Linked DNA regions of Homo sapiens: region 1 is linked to region 2. Evidence: promoter capture Hi-C in human tissues and cell types (Jung and others, 2019). All regions are on one chromosome and are shown on one strand. The core of a region is centred on a gene start or on the middle of the fragment in contact, and the rest is flanking DNA. Distances in the headings are between cores, read along the strand shown. Region 1 overlaps CLEC4C (C-type lectin domain family 4 member C). Region 2 holds the start of GDF3 (growth differentiation factor 3).

Evidence for each region. The method cuts DNA at HindIII sites, captures the fragments that hold promoters and counts their contacts. A contact is called where the count stands out against the background at its distance.
Region 1: a contact is called between a fragment that was not itself captured here and the fragment with the promoter of GDF3 in region 2, in 1 of the 25 tissues and cell types used here (H1 embryonic stem cells).

What each region holds. Positions count from the first base shown.
Region 1 is chr12:7,731,996-7,738,998 of GRCh38, forward strand. It overlaps CLEC4C (C-type lectin domain family 4 member C), which reads right to left. Exons shown (of 6, transcript NM_001371390.1): 4 at 5,434-5,579. Among named protein-coding and RNA genes, the nearest start is that of CLEC4C, 12 kb to the right of the region's middle. RefSeq lists a silencer at 5,345-5,545. The HindIII fragment of the contact is 6,238 bases long and covers 1-4,749 here.
Region 2 is chr12:7,691,233-7,698,590 of GRCh38, forward strand. It overlaps GDF3 (growth differentiation factor 3), which reads right to left and starts at 4,543. Exons shown (of 2, transcript NM_020634.3): 1 at 4,229-4,543. The coding sequence starts at 4,496. RefSeq lists an enhancer at 2,387-3,024. The HindIII fragment of the contact is 8,403 bases long and covers 1-7,358 here.

The sequences.
Region 1 (7,003 bases), core at 381-2,880, 38 kb after region 2:
CTTTGCATGAACACTCCAAATGCTTCAGGTCACTTTTTTTTCTTTCTTTTTTTAGACAGAGTCTTACTCTGTTACCCAGGCTGGAGTGCAGTGGCACGATCTCGGGTCACTGCAACCTCTGCCTCCCGGGTTCAAGTGAGTATCCTGCCGCAGCCTCCTAAGTAGCTGGGATAACAGGCATGCAACATCATGCCTGGTTAATTTTTGTATTTTTAGTAGAGACGGGGTTTCACCATGTTGGCCAGGCTGGTCTCAAACTCGTGACCTCAGTTGATTTGCCTGCCTAGGCCTCCCAAAGTGCTGGGATTACAGGCGTGAGCCATGATGTCCAGCCACAGGTCACTTTATTTTTTTATTTTTTTTATTTATTTTTTTGAGATGGAGTCTCACTCTGTCGCCAGGCTGGAGTGCAGTGGTGTGATCTCGGCTCACTGCAACCTCCAAATCCCTGGTTCAAGCGGTTCTTCTGCCTCAGGCTCCAGAGTAGCTGGGATTACACGCACGAGCCACCATGCCCAGCTAATTTTTTTGTATTTTTAGTAGAGATGGGGTTTCACCATGTTGGCCAGGATGGTCTCGATCTCCTGACCTTGTGATCCACCCTCCTCGGCCTTCCAAAGTGCTGGGATTACAGGCGTGAGCCACCGTGCCCGACCACAGGTCACTTTAAAATAAAGATATTTATGGCCAGGTGTGGTGGTTCACGCCTATAATCCAAGCATTTTGGGAGGCTGAGGATGGCGGATCACGAGGTCAGGAGATCAAGACCATACTGGCTAACATGGTGAAACCCCGTCTCTACCAAAATACAAAAAATTAGCCGGGCATGGTGGCAGGCAGCTACTCAGGAGGCTGAGGCAGGAGAATGGCATGAACCCAGGAGGCGGAGCTGCAGTGAGCGGAGATCGCGCCACTGCACTCCAGTCTCGGCGACAGAGGGACAGAGCAACATTCTGTCTCAAAAAATAAAATAAAGATATTTATAATAGTAGTAGTTAAAATTAGTCATTGTCTACTATATGCCAAGTATTATGCCATGAGTTTGCATAAGTTACTTCACGTAAATTTTACAACTACTACTGTGAGGAAGATAGTGTGGCTGTCTCCATTTTACTAAGTCTCAGGAAACAGATTTAGAAAGATAAAGTTGTCAAACGTCACACAACTAATAAATAACAGAGATCTAACTCTAGAGCCAGTATTCTTAACCAGTACATGTTCTGTGTTACAAGAAAGATAGAGGTCTATAATCAAATTTTAGAAAGCCAAATTTTTTTTTTTTTTTGGAGGTGGAGTCTTGGTCTGTTGCCAAGGCTGGAGTGCAATGGTGTGATCTCGGCTCAGGGCAACCTTTGCTTTCTGGGTTCAAGCAATTCTCATGCCTCAGCCTCCTGAGTAACTGGGACTACAGGTGTATGCCACCACACCTGGCTAATTTTTGTATTTTTAGTAGAGATGGAGTTTCACCATGTTGACCAAGCTGGTCTTTTTTTTTTTTTTTTTTGAGACTGAGTCTTGCTCTGTCGCCCAGGCTAGAGTGCAGTGGCGAGATCTTGGCTCACTGCAAGCTCCGCCTCCTGGGTTCACGCCATTCTCCTGCCTCAGCCTCCCGAGTAGCTGGAACTACAGGCTCCCGCCACCATGCCCTGCTAATTTTTTGTATTTTTAGTAGAGACGGGGTTTCACCATATTAGCCAGGATGGTCTCAATCTCCTGACCTTGTGATCCAGCTGCCTCAGCCTCCCAAAGTGCTGGGATTACAGGCGTGAGCCACCGCACCTGGCCCCCAAGCTGGTCTTGAACTCCTGGCCTCAAGTGATCTGCCCACCTTCGCCTCCCAACATGCTGAGATTACAGGCGTGAGCCACCACACCCAGCCGTCATATATTTTGTTTTGTTTTACTTGTTTCTTTTTGAGATGGAGTCTTGCTCTCTCACCCAGGCTGGAGTGCAGTGGTATGATCTCGGCTCACTGCAACCTCTACCTCCCAGATTCAAGCAATTCTTCTGCCTCAGCCACCCAAGTATCCGGGACTACAGGCATGAAACACGTCGCCAGGCCTCAAATAATGTTGTACAAACAAGAAAAGATATTTTGACATAGGTTTTCAGATTATTTTGAATGTACATGAACATATACGAGACATTGTTAGTGGTTTGTGTGCTTCCCTCCCTCTCCGCCATATCAATTTATCTATTCATTCATTCATTGAACATTCAAGCAGTCTATTGTCTGCCCAGACCCTGTGCTAAATGTGGCATAAGAAGTCAAAACAAATAAAAGTTTACAACATGGCTGGGGAGACAGGATGAACAGCACTTTTGAAAACTTTGTACGGTTAGGCAAAAATTAGAGTCCAGAGCCAAGAAAGAGGTAAGGGTAAATAGGCAGTAAATCAGACCTCATATAGATTATGATCTGGCTTTGAATCATTTGGATATTGTAGAAATTTCAAGCCCTGAAATTGCCATAATGTACTGTAGGACTTGTGCCAAGGCATGTGGCAAAAGCAAATGAAAATACTCTTTGGAAGAGAATAATATCTGAGGCCTCCAATTTTTTTTTTTTTTTTGAGACAGTTTTGCTTTTTCACCCAGACTGGAACGAAGTGGCATGATCTTGGCTCACTGCAACCTCTGCCCCCTGGGTTCAAGTGATTCTCCTGCCTCAGCCTCCCGAGTAACTGTGATTACAGGCATGTGCCACCATGCCGAGCTAATTTTTGTATTTTTAGTAGAGAAGGGTTTCGCCATGTTGGCCAGGCTGGTCTCAAACTCCTGACCTGAGGTGATCCACCCGCCTCAGCCTCCCAAAGTGCTAGGATTACAAGCATGAGCCACCGTGCCTGGCCTCCAATTATTTTTATAAATAATTTTTCAAGTACAACATCCATCACACAAGGATAATTTGAAACATTCCATAGGCCAGGCATGGTGTCTCAGGCCTATAACCCCAGCACTTTGGGAGACCGAGGCAGGCTGATCACTTGAGGCCAGGAGTTTGAGACTAGCCTGGACAACATGGTGTAACCCTGTCTCTACTAAAAATACAAAAATTAGCCAGGAGCGGTGGCATGCACCTGTAATCCCAGCTGGTCAGGAGGCTGAGTCAGAAGAATCACTTGAACACAGAAGTCAGAGGTTGCAGTGAGCCGAGATCACACCACTGCACTCCAGCCTGGGGTGACAGAGAGAGACTCTGTCTCAAAAAAATAAAAAAAGAAGATCTGGGCACAGTGGCCCACACCTGTAATCCCAGCAATTTGGGAGGCTGGGGCAGGTAGATCACCTGAGGTCAGGAGTTCGAGACTAGCCTGGCCAACATGGTAAAACCTCATCTTTACTAAAAATACAAAAATTAGCTGGGCGTGGTTGCAGGCGCCTGTAATCCCAGCTATTCAGGAGGCTGAGACAGGAGAATCGCTTGAACCCAGGAAGCAGAGGTTGCAGTAAGCAGAGATCTTGCCACTGCACTCCAGCCTGGGCGATAGAACAAGACTCTGTCTCAAAGAAAAAAAAAAAAAAAAACGGCCAGGCACGGTGGCTCACGCCTGTAATCCCAGCACTTTGGGAGACCGAGGCAGGCAGATCACGAGGTCAGGAGTTTGAGACTAGCCTGGCCAATATGGTGAAACCCCGTCTCTACTAAAAATACAAAAATTAGCCAGGTGTGGTGGTGGTCGCCTGTAATCCCAGCTACTCGGGAGACAGAGAGGAGAATCGCTTGAACGCAGGAGGTGGAGGTTGCAGTGAGCTGAGATCGAGCCACTGCACTCCAGCCTGGCGACAGAGCAAGACTCCATCTCAAAAAAAAGAAAAAAAAAGCAAAAACCAGTAACAGCAAAAAAACAAGCTTAAGTGTTGAACATTATAAAGTTTGACAGCATATTTGAAAGAGAAGCAAGATCAATTCTAGATTTGAAAAATACAATAATTGAATTTAGATGTTAATATATGGCTTTAATAGCAGGATAGACATAGTTGAAGAAGATTAGTCAAGTGGGAGGGCCAGGTGTGGTGGCTCACGCCTGTAATCCCAGAACTTTGGGAGGCCGAGGTGGGTGGATCACGAGGTCAGGAGTTCAAGACCAGCCTGGCCAACATGGTGAAACCCCCGTCTCTACTAAAAATACAAAAATTAGCTGGGTGTGGTGGCACGCACCTGGAGTCCCAGTTACTCGGGAAGCTGAGGCAGGAGAATCGCTTGAACCTGGGAGGCGGAGGTTGCAGTGAGCCAAGACCGTGCCATTGCACTCCAGCCTGGGCGCCATTGCACTCCAGCCTGGGCAACAGAGTGAGACTCTGTCTCAAAAACAAAAAGAAGATTAGTGAACTGGAATAGAAGGACAGAAGAAACTGTTTAAAATCAAGTACAAAGAGAAAAATAGATGGAAAATGTTGAAAAGAAGGTAAGAAATGCAGAGGATACAGTATGAAGGACTAATGTTTAATTGGTTGACATTTCTTAGATGGCAAATATTAATATCATTTTTCCATTTTTCAAATTCACTATTTTATTTGCCTGAATTTTTTTTCTTATATTTTTAAAATTAAAATTCTTCAGGATCAAATTTCAACATCAATGTTTGCCTGAAGTTTGCTCCGGAATTTGTTTTATTAAAGTTATTGTTAGCCAGACGTGGTGGCTCACACCTGTAATCCCAGCACTTTGGGAGGCCGAGACGGGCAGATCACGAGGTCAGGAGATCCAGACCATCCTGGCTAACACAGTGAAACCCCATCTCTACTAAAAATACAAAAAAATTAGCCGGGCGTGGTGGCAGGTGCCTGTAGTCCCAGCTACTTGGGAGGCAGGAGAATGGTGTGAACCCGGGAGGCTGAGCTTGCAGTGAGCTGAGATTGTGCCACTGCACTCCAGCCTGGGCAACAGAGCAAGACTCCGTCTCAAAATAAATAAATAAATAAATAAAAATAAAAAATAAAGTTATTGTTGGCCACACATGGTGGCTCACGCCTATAATCCCAACACTTTGAGAGGCCGAGGCAGGTGGATCATTTGAGGTCAGTAGTTCAAGATCAGCCTGACTAACATGGTGAAACCTCGTCTCTTCTAAAAATACAAAAATTAGCCAGGCGTGGCGGTACATGCCTATCCTCCCAGCTACTTGGGAGGCTGAGGCAGGAGAATCACTTGACCCCGGGAGGCGGAGGCTGCAGGGAGCTGAGATCGTGCCATTACACTCCAGCTTGGGTGACAAAAGGAGACAGTCCCCCCAAAAAAAATAAAAATAAAAGTCATTTTTGAGTGTTCCAGATTAAGGAGATTTTCCTGTGTTTTTTGTTTTTTGGGTTTTTTTTTACCCAGAAGTTTTTTTTTTTTTCCTGTCTTTGAACTTTCAGGGCAATAAAAAGACTCTTTATCAGTTAAGAAAGGAAACAGATTAGCTGACCACCTTGCCTGTTAGAACATACCTGTTCTTCCCTGGTGTTGATCACCACCAGATCAGCCCCCATCACAGAACAGTTCTTTTGACTCTTAGTCCAAGATTGCATCCCAGTAGAAATAAAGTAGCAACTAGACTGAAATGAAGTCCAAGGGGTTGGGCAGCAGCTCCAATCTTCCCAAATGAGTATAGAAGAAGAAAAAATATTAACAGAGAATTCTCCTCACATAAAGTTATAAGCTTAGCTTGCTAAGGTTTAATTAGTTTTCACCTATGGATCTCCACGGATTTTCCAAAGCTGAACTCATTTACTGGTGTATTTACTAATCCCTAGATCATTTCACTCTATACAGGGACCAGCAAACTTCCTGCAAAAGGCCAGATAGTAAATATCTCAGGCTTTTTGGGCCATACGGTTTCTGTTGCAACTGCTTAACTCTGCTACTGCAGTACGAAAGCAACCACTGGCAATATGTTACCAAAGAAAAAAAAAAGAACATGAGTATGGCAATAAAATGCCATTTACAAAACTAGGCAGCTTGTTGAGTTTGGCCCATGCCTTAGTTTTCCAGGCCCTGCTTTAAACCCACAAAAATGATCTGAAAGACAAATACTTTAACTTCAGGTTCTCATCATTCATTGGTGGTCATATATGAACCATGTCCACATCTTTAGCAAAAATAAGCTTCGCAATGTTATATTTGTCACTAATAATTATAGATATAAATATCATTTAGAGTTTAGCATCCCATTATAAAGAATGAGTCCAGAGTAAGACATATCTGGGTTGCAACCTCATTTTCTGTGCTGTAATTTTGGGAAAATTATATAACCACTCTAAGCCTTAAATATTTTTCTTTTCGTTTGTAAATGGGAATATTTCTCACTCAGAATGTTGAGAGGTTGAGGTGACATAATACATGCAAAACACTTAAGAGCAGTACGTGCTGAAAAATATCCATCTCTCCTCCTTCGAAGCACCAGTTTCTTCCACTGTCAGCACAAACGAGATTATATACATTCCCTCTAACAAACAGTGACAATGTAGACCATATCAAAATGTTTTTCTTTATATTTTGACATACATTATACCAAAATAAATATTTAAAAATTTTTTTAGAGACAGGATCATGCTTTGTCATCTAAGCTGGAGTGCAGTGGCATAACCATGGCTCACTGCAGCCTTGACCTGGATTCAAGTGATCCTCCCACCTCAGCCTCCCAAGTAGCTGGAACCACAGGGGCACGCCACCACACCCAGCTAATTTTTTTTGTATTATTTGTAGAGACAGAGTCTTGCTTCGTTGCCCAGGCTGATCTGGAACTCCTGGGATCAAGTGATCCACTGGCCTCAGCTGCCCTGAAGTGCTGGAATTACAGGCATGAGCCACTGAGCCTGGCCTCCTATGATAGTTTTGTTTTGTTTTTAATTATACTTTAAGTTCTAGGGTACATGTGCACAACGTGCAGGTTACATATGTATACATGTGCCACTTTGGTGTGCTGCACCCATTAACTCGTCATTTATGTTAGGTATATCTCCTAATGCTATCCCTCCCCCCTCCCCACCCCACAACAGGCCCCAGTGTGTGATGTTC
Region 2 (7,358 bases), core at 3,293-5,792:
CACGAACTTAGATGGGAAAAATAATTACATCATTATTTCCACTAAACTCTAAATGAAATTTAGCATTTCCTTCATTATGAATATAGGTAACAAATCCCAGTAATATCATCAGGGCCTATGACATTGTTATCAATAAAATCATAGGTGTGTTCATACGTTTAGTTGTTGCAAATAACTTAAAATATTTATGGAGTCCAGGCAAGGTGGCTCATGCCTGTAATCCCAGCACGTTGGGAGGCTGAGATGGGAGATTTGCTTGAGGCCAGGAGTTTGAGACCATCCTGGGCAACATAGTGAAACCCCATCTCTACAAAATAAATAAATAAATAAAAGAAAAGAAAAAGAAAAAAAAAAACAAAACACTTATGCTAACACTATGCCGAAATTTATGGTAGTTATAGGTATAGTCACCTCCCTAAATCTTGTTATGTATTACATGAATAAAGCATTATATATATTACTATATATACATTTGTCTTTAAAATATTTTAAAAGCCAGGCGTGGTGGCTCATGCCTGTAATCCCAGCACTTTGGGAGGCCGAGGCGGGCGGATCACGAGATGAGGAGATCGAGACCATCCTGGCTAACACGGTAAAACCCCATCTCTACTAAAAATACAAAAAATTAGCCGGGCAAGGTGGAGGGTGCCTGTAGTTCCAGCTACTCAGGAGGTTGAGGCAGGAGAATGGTGTGAACCCGGGAGGCGGAGCTTGCAGTGAGCCAAGATCACGCCACTGCACTCCAGCCTGGGCGACAGAGCAAGACTCTGCCTCAAAAAATAAAAAATAAATAAAAAATAAAAAAAGTTTTAAAAAAATTTTAAAATGTATTTCAATATTTAATTGGTTTCTTTTGAAATCCTAAATATTTTACTTTAGGCACTTAAACCATTATTCTGAGAAAGAGTCAATAGACTGGGCCGGGACATGGTGGCTCACACCAGTGATCCCAGCACTTTGGGAGGCCAAGGCGGGCAGATAACCTGAGGTCAGGAGACCAGACTGACCAACATGGAGAAAACCTGTCTCTGCTAAAAATACAAAAAAATTAGCCGGGCAGGGTGGCACATGCCTGTAATCCCAGCTACTCGGGAGGCTGAGGCAGGAGCATCACTTGAATTTGGGAGGCAGAGGTTGTGGTGAGCCGATATCACACCATTGTACTCCAGCCTGGGCAACAAGAGCAAAACTCCGTCTCAGTTAAAAAAAAAAAAAAAATAGCAACCTAGACAGTCAGGTGTTGTTGGCCAAAGTCCAATCATTCAGATTGGCTTTAATTTTTTTTTTTTTTTTCTGAGACGGAGTCCTGCTCTGTTGCCCAGGCTGGAGTGCACTGGCTTGATCTCAGCTCACTGCAACCTCCGTCTCTCGGGTTCAAGCAATTCTCCTGAATCAGCCTCTGGAGTAGCTGGGATTACAGGTGCACACCACGTCTGGCTAATTGTATTTTTAGTAGAGACGGGGTTTCACCATGTTGGCCAGGCTGGTCTCAAACTCCTGACCTCAGGTGATCCGCCCACCTCGGCCTCCCAAAGTGTTGGGATTACAGGCAAAAGCCACCACACCCAGCCAATTTTTTTTTTAAGTTTTTGTAGAGATAGGGTCTCTCTATGTTGCCTAGGCTTATCGAGAACTCCTGAGCTCAAAGGATCCTCCCACGTCTCAAAGTGCTGGGATTACAGTCACGAGCCACTGTGCCCAGCCTCTCCTCATATTGAAGTACAATGTGATTCTTCGATTTTTGTCCATGGATGCCCCTCTTCTGAAGTTACAAATGTGCTCTCCCTGTTTTCTAAGCTAACTTTCCTGCCTGAATTTTCAAATTTTACCTATTCCTCTAGGAAAAGGCCCAATACAGTCTACTTTTACTATTTGCATCTTCAATTTCTCCCTTTTCACAAATAACTCATTTGGCCTCTAATGCCATCATTTTGTTTGGTAGAATGACTTCACGCTTGAGTAGGTATTTTCTCTCTTTTTCTTTCCCCGAGATGGAGTCTTGCTCTGTCACCCAGGCTGGAGTGCAGTGGTGCGATCTTGGCTCACAGCAACCTCTGCCTCCCGGGTGTTCAATCGATTTTCCTGCCTCAGCCTCCAGAGTAGCTGGAATTACAGGCGCCCGCCACCACACCTGGCTAATTTTTTTTTTTTTTTTTTTTGGTATTTTTAGTAGAGACGGGGGTCAGGGGAGTGGGGGGAGGGCCTTACCATGTTGGCTAGGCTGGTCTCGAACTCCTGGCCTCGTGATCTGCCTGCCTCGGCCTCCCAAAGTGCTGGGATTACAGGTGTGAGCCACCACGCCCAGCCTTAAGTAGGTATTTTCTGAGGTCATTCAGCTTAGGGAGAAATTACAACTCAAACCGAAACACTCTTAAGCACCCCACCACCACACCTCTTCATTCTCAAGCATCATTCAAAACCTAACAAAATTTGGCTGGGCATGGTGGCTCATGCCTATAATCCCAGCACTTTGGGAGGTCAAGGCAGGCCATTGCCTGAGCTCAGAAGTTAGAGACCAGCCTCATGGTGAGACCTCATCTCTATAAAAAAGTACAAAAATCAGCCTGGCGTGGTTGCGTGCACCTGTAGCCTGTAGTTCCAACTACTCTACTCGGCAGGCTGAGGTGGGAAGATCGCTTGAGCCCAGGAGGTGGAGGCTGCAGTGAGCCGAGATTGTGCCACTGCAGTCCAGCCTGGGTGACACAGCAAGACCTGTCTCAAGGGGAAAAAACAAAAAGAGGAAGAACAAGAGGAAGAAGAAGAAAAGCCTGAAGTACTTGACCAGGCAAATTCTGAGGGAGTACTTCAGGCAGCCTGGATACAGCACGTGTGAGGATGAGACAAGAGTGCATGCTCTAGAAGGAATAGACTACTATGAGCTTGGAGTTGAGTGTGCAAGGAGAGGGTGTAAAAGGTGAGACTGGGGAAGTAAGCAGCAGGGTCAGAACAGGCAGGGCATGGTGGGTCAACTCTTGCAGAATTTTGCAGACGAGAATTTTACGTGGAGGAGCAGTACGACTCAATACGCATTTTTAAAAGGTAATTCTGGGCTGGGTGCGGTGGCTCAGGCCTGTAATCCCAGCAGTTTGGGAGGCTGAGGCAGGCGGATCACCTGAAGTCAGGAGTTCAAGACCAGCCTGGCCAACATATAGTGAAACCCTGTCTCTACTAAAAAATTAAAAAATTAAAAAATTAGCTGGGCTTGGTGACACACGCCTGTAATCCCAGCTACTTGGGAAGCTGAGGCAGAAGAATCACTTGAACCCAGGAAGCGGAGGTTGCAGTGAGCTGAGAAAGTGCCACTCTACTCCAGCCTGGGGGACAGAGCGAGACTCTCAAAAAAAAAAAAAAAAAAAAAAGGCAAACTTTATCTTGTATTCTCAAGGCCATACACAGTTCCTGGCTCACCATAGGTATCCAATAAGTGCTTCTTGGACAAATAAATATTCAAATCTTCTCTCCAGTTGCTGTAAAACTAACCAAGGCTCTAAATTCTGCATCTGAAACACCCGGGAGGTTGTATAGACATGCAGATTCTCAACACCCATTTCAGACTTTGAATAAGAATTGGGTGGGGAGAACTAGGGGCAGGAATGGGGTTGGAGGATCTACTGTTAATGGAAGACCTAAGTTATTTGGTGGGTGGTCAGTTTGGGAAAGTACTGGATCCCACTCACTGAGATCCTTTTAAAAGGATATGACAGTTGTATATATTATTGCTCTCTATTCACAAATCTAGAATAACCTTTGCCACCCAACAAGAGTAGCCAGGAGGTACAAATAAGGGAAGCAGGACTCCTGGGCAAACCAACCTCAAAATTTTCATACCCTGCTTGCCACATGGAAGACGGCAGGATGTGTATATATGGGCTGCAGGGTGGGAGACTGAGCTCTGATTCCTCCCTCACCTCTTTCATCTCAACTGAAGCACAAAGCAGTTGATTCAGAAAACAAAAACCTATTTCAAATCCTGACTTTGTTCTCACACACTAGCTGTATGATCTTGAATAGATTACAGGTTACCTACTGTCTGAGCCTAATTTCCTTACTGTTAGGAACTTGATAAGAATATCTAACTTCCTCTCAGGATCGTGGCTGGAATTAAATGAGACAAAATATGAAAAATACCAGCACAAGGCCATCAGTAATTGTCATTTCCTATTGTCCTTTCCTTTCTTCACACCACCCAGTTCCAGATGTTTTTCTGGATAACACTCTATTTCCTTACCTTGGTCTGGGAGAAAGCGAAGTACATTCCCGCGGACGCCCAGCTCCTTTACGTAGCATAAGTCTCGGGAGACCCCAGTGGTCGCTGCTGCCTCGCGATCCTGGAAAATTTTCTTCAAGATATAAGGCACAGGTTGGAACTTCTGGGGTGAAGGCGCCTTATCTAAGCCCAGAAATTGGAGAAAGACATATTCTTGAAATTGGACTGCCTGGCCCAAAGCCAGAATTAACAGGAAGCTGAAAGCCAAATCTGGCAAGAAACGAAGCATGGCCTCTGGAGTGGCTGTCAGACCGGGGAGAGCTCCACTGCCAGACTGCCCAACAATTCAGAGGCTGCTAATTTATCTGATGTAAGATAATCAAGTGTGAATTGCTCTCTTCCCAGCTCCTCAAAGGCCATTGGATGTGAAGAGGGAATTTTTTTTTCTCTTCTCTTGCTCTACTCTTCCAGGAAAAAGTTCACAGAACAAAGATTACCAATGCATGGACATAAATTCTACAACAATGTGAGGTTGTCAGCAGTAGACAGAGTGAAAAGGAGACATGCATTTATTCATTTAACAAACAGTTACTAAGCATCTATTATGTGCACGGTGCTGAGATAGGTGCTAGGAATAGAGCAGTGAATAATTCATAGACTTGTAATTAATCATCTACATAGACCAAGCTTGTCCAACCTGCGGCCGGAGGGTCACATGAGGCTCACGATGGCTTTGAATGCAGCCCCACACAGATTCATAAACTTCCGTAAAACATTATGAAACTTTCTTGTGATTTTTTTAAGCTCATCAGCTATCATTAGTGTTAGTATATTTTACGTGTGGCCCAAAACAATTCTTCTTCTTCCAATGTGACCCAGGGAAGCCAAAAGATTGGACACCCCTGGATTAGACAAATACTCAAGTAGATTTCATTATTTTATTTTTATTTTTATTTTTATTTATGTATTTATTTATTTTTGAGACAGGGTCTCGCTCTGTTGCCCAGGCTGGAGTGCAGTGGCCTGATCTTGGCTCACTGCAAGCCTCGACCCCCTGAGCTCAAGAGATCATCCCACCTCAGCCTCTGGAGTAGTTGAGACTACAGGCATAGGGCACCACTTCCAGCTAATTGTTTTATTTTTTACAGAGATGGGGCCTTGCCATGTTGTCCAGACTGGTCTTGAACTCCTGGTCTCAAGCAGTCTTCCCACCTCGGCCTCCCAAAGTGCTGGGATTGTAGGCATGAGCCACTACACCCAGCCGCCAGCCTTGTTTCTCACCACCCACCATCCTTAGTGTGGATGCTCTAATTACATTGACCTATTTGTAGCTCTGTGAGCTCATTTCATCTCAGAGCCTTTACACAGACCAAGTTCAAAGGTCACCTCTACTTCCACAGTTTCGACTCACCAAAATAGATTGAGATACTTCTTTCTCCCACTGAGCCATACTTGGGCATCCATTACAGTTTTTTTGTTTTTTTGTTTTTTTTGAGACGGAGTTTCGCTCTTGTTGCCCTGGCTGCAGTGCAATGGCACGATCTCAGCTCACCACAACCTCTGCCTCCCAGGTTCAAGCAATTCTCCTGCCTCAGCCTCCCTAGTAGCTGGGATTACAGGCATGCGCTACCATGCCCGGCTACTTTTGTATTTTTAGTAGAGACGGGGTTTCTCCATGTCGGTCAGGCTGGTCTCAAACTCCTGACCTCAGGTAATCCACCCACCTCGGCCTCCCAAAGTGTTGGGATTATAGGTGTGAGCCACTGCACCCGGCCCTCCATTACAGTTTCTGCAGTGCATTTTACTGTGTTTGCCTCCTTCCTTTTCAGACAACTCACACCTTGAGGATCAGAACTGTGTCTCTTTGCCTAAGTATCTTCAGTGTGTCTTTTTCCCCAAAGTATCTCCACTGGTGAAGAAAGTGTCCGGCAGGTAGCAGACATTTGATAAGTATCTGTGCAAAAAATAAATTAAGGAATTAATTGGTTGCTATTTCTAGAGGTCTCACTCTTTTATATAGTGAGGTCTTCCCCATTTCTTTTTTTTCTTTTTTTTTTTTAGAGACTAGGTTTGGGGAGTGTCTCACTGTGTTGCCCAGGCTGGCCTTGAATTACTGGATCAAGGGAATCTTCTGCCTCAGCCTCCAAGTAACTAGAACTACAGGCAGGTGCCACTGCTCGCAGGTCCCACTTCTCTTATCTCCTGTTTCTATCTTATTTAACACTTTTAAATTAATCTACAATCTTAACCTTTTTTCAACAATAAGAGTAGGTTGTATTTGGGTTTTCTTTATTTGACTTTCCTGACTTAAGGTCAGAAATCAGACTAACTGGTTCAAATTCTGGTTCCACTACTGATTAGTTATGTGACCATGAGCAAGCCACTCAAGTGTAAAATGGGAATAAAATATTCTTCGTTGCTGGGCGCGGTGGCTCATGCCTGTAATCCTAGCACTTTGGGAGGCCGAGGCGGGCGGATCACGAGGTCAGGAGATCGAGACCATCCTGGCTAACATGGTGAAACCCCGTCTCTACTAAAAATACAAAAGAATTAGCCGGGCATGGTAGCGGGTGCCTGTAGTCCCAGCTACTCGGGAGGCTGAGGCAGGAGAATGGCGTGAACCCAGGAGGCGGAGCTTGCAGTGAGCAGAGATCGCGCCACTGCACTCCAGCCTGGGATAGAGCAAGACTCCGTCTCAAAACAAACAAACAAACAAACAAAAACATTCTTTGTTAAGGTGCTGAGGGCAACTCGTAAAATAATGTACAGATGACATTCAGGACAATGTCTGCCGAATGGAAAGCACTCAATAAAAGTTAGCTATTATTATTATCGTCATTATTATTAATTAAAGAGGAGGTCGATCAGGTGCAGTGGCTTGTGCCTGTAGTCCCAGCCGCTTAGAAGCCTGAGGTGGGAAGATCCCTCGAGCTCAGGAGTGCGACGCCAACCTGGGTACTATAGCAAGACCCAGTTCCTAAAGGAAAAAAAAAAGGTTCAGCAGAGCACAAGCTAAGAGAAAAAGAAAAAAAAAAAAAAAAAAAAAAAAAAGGCAGGGAGAGAGGTAGTTTGATCATGGAGGGAAAAAGAAGTAATAGAGAATGTGCAGTTGCCTAGCAGGAAAAGCACCAAATCGGCCAGGGGATCTGAG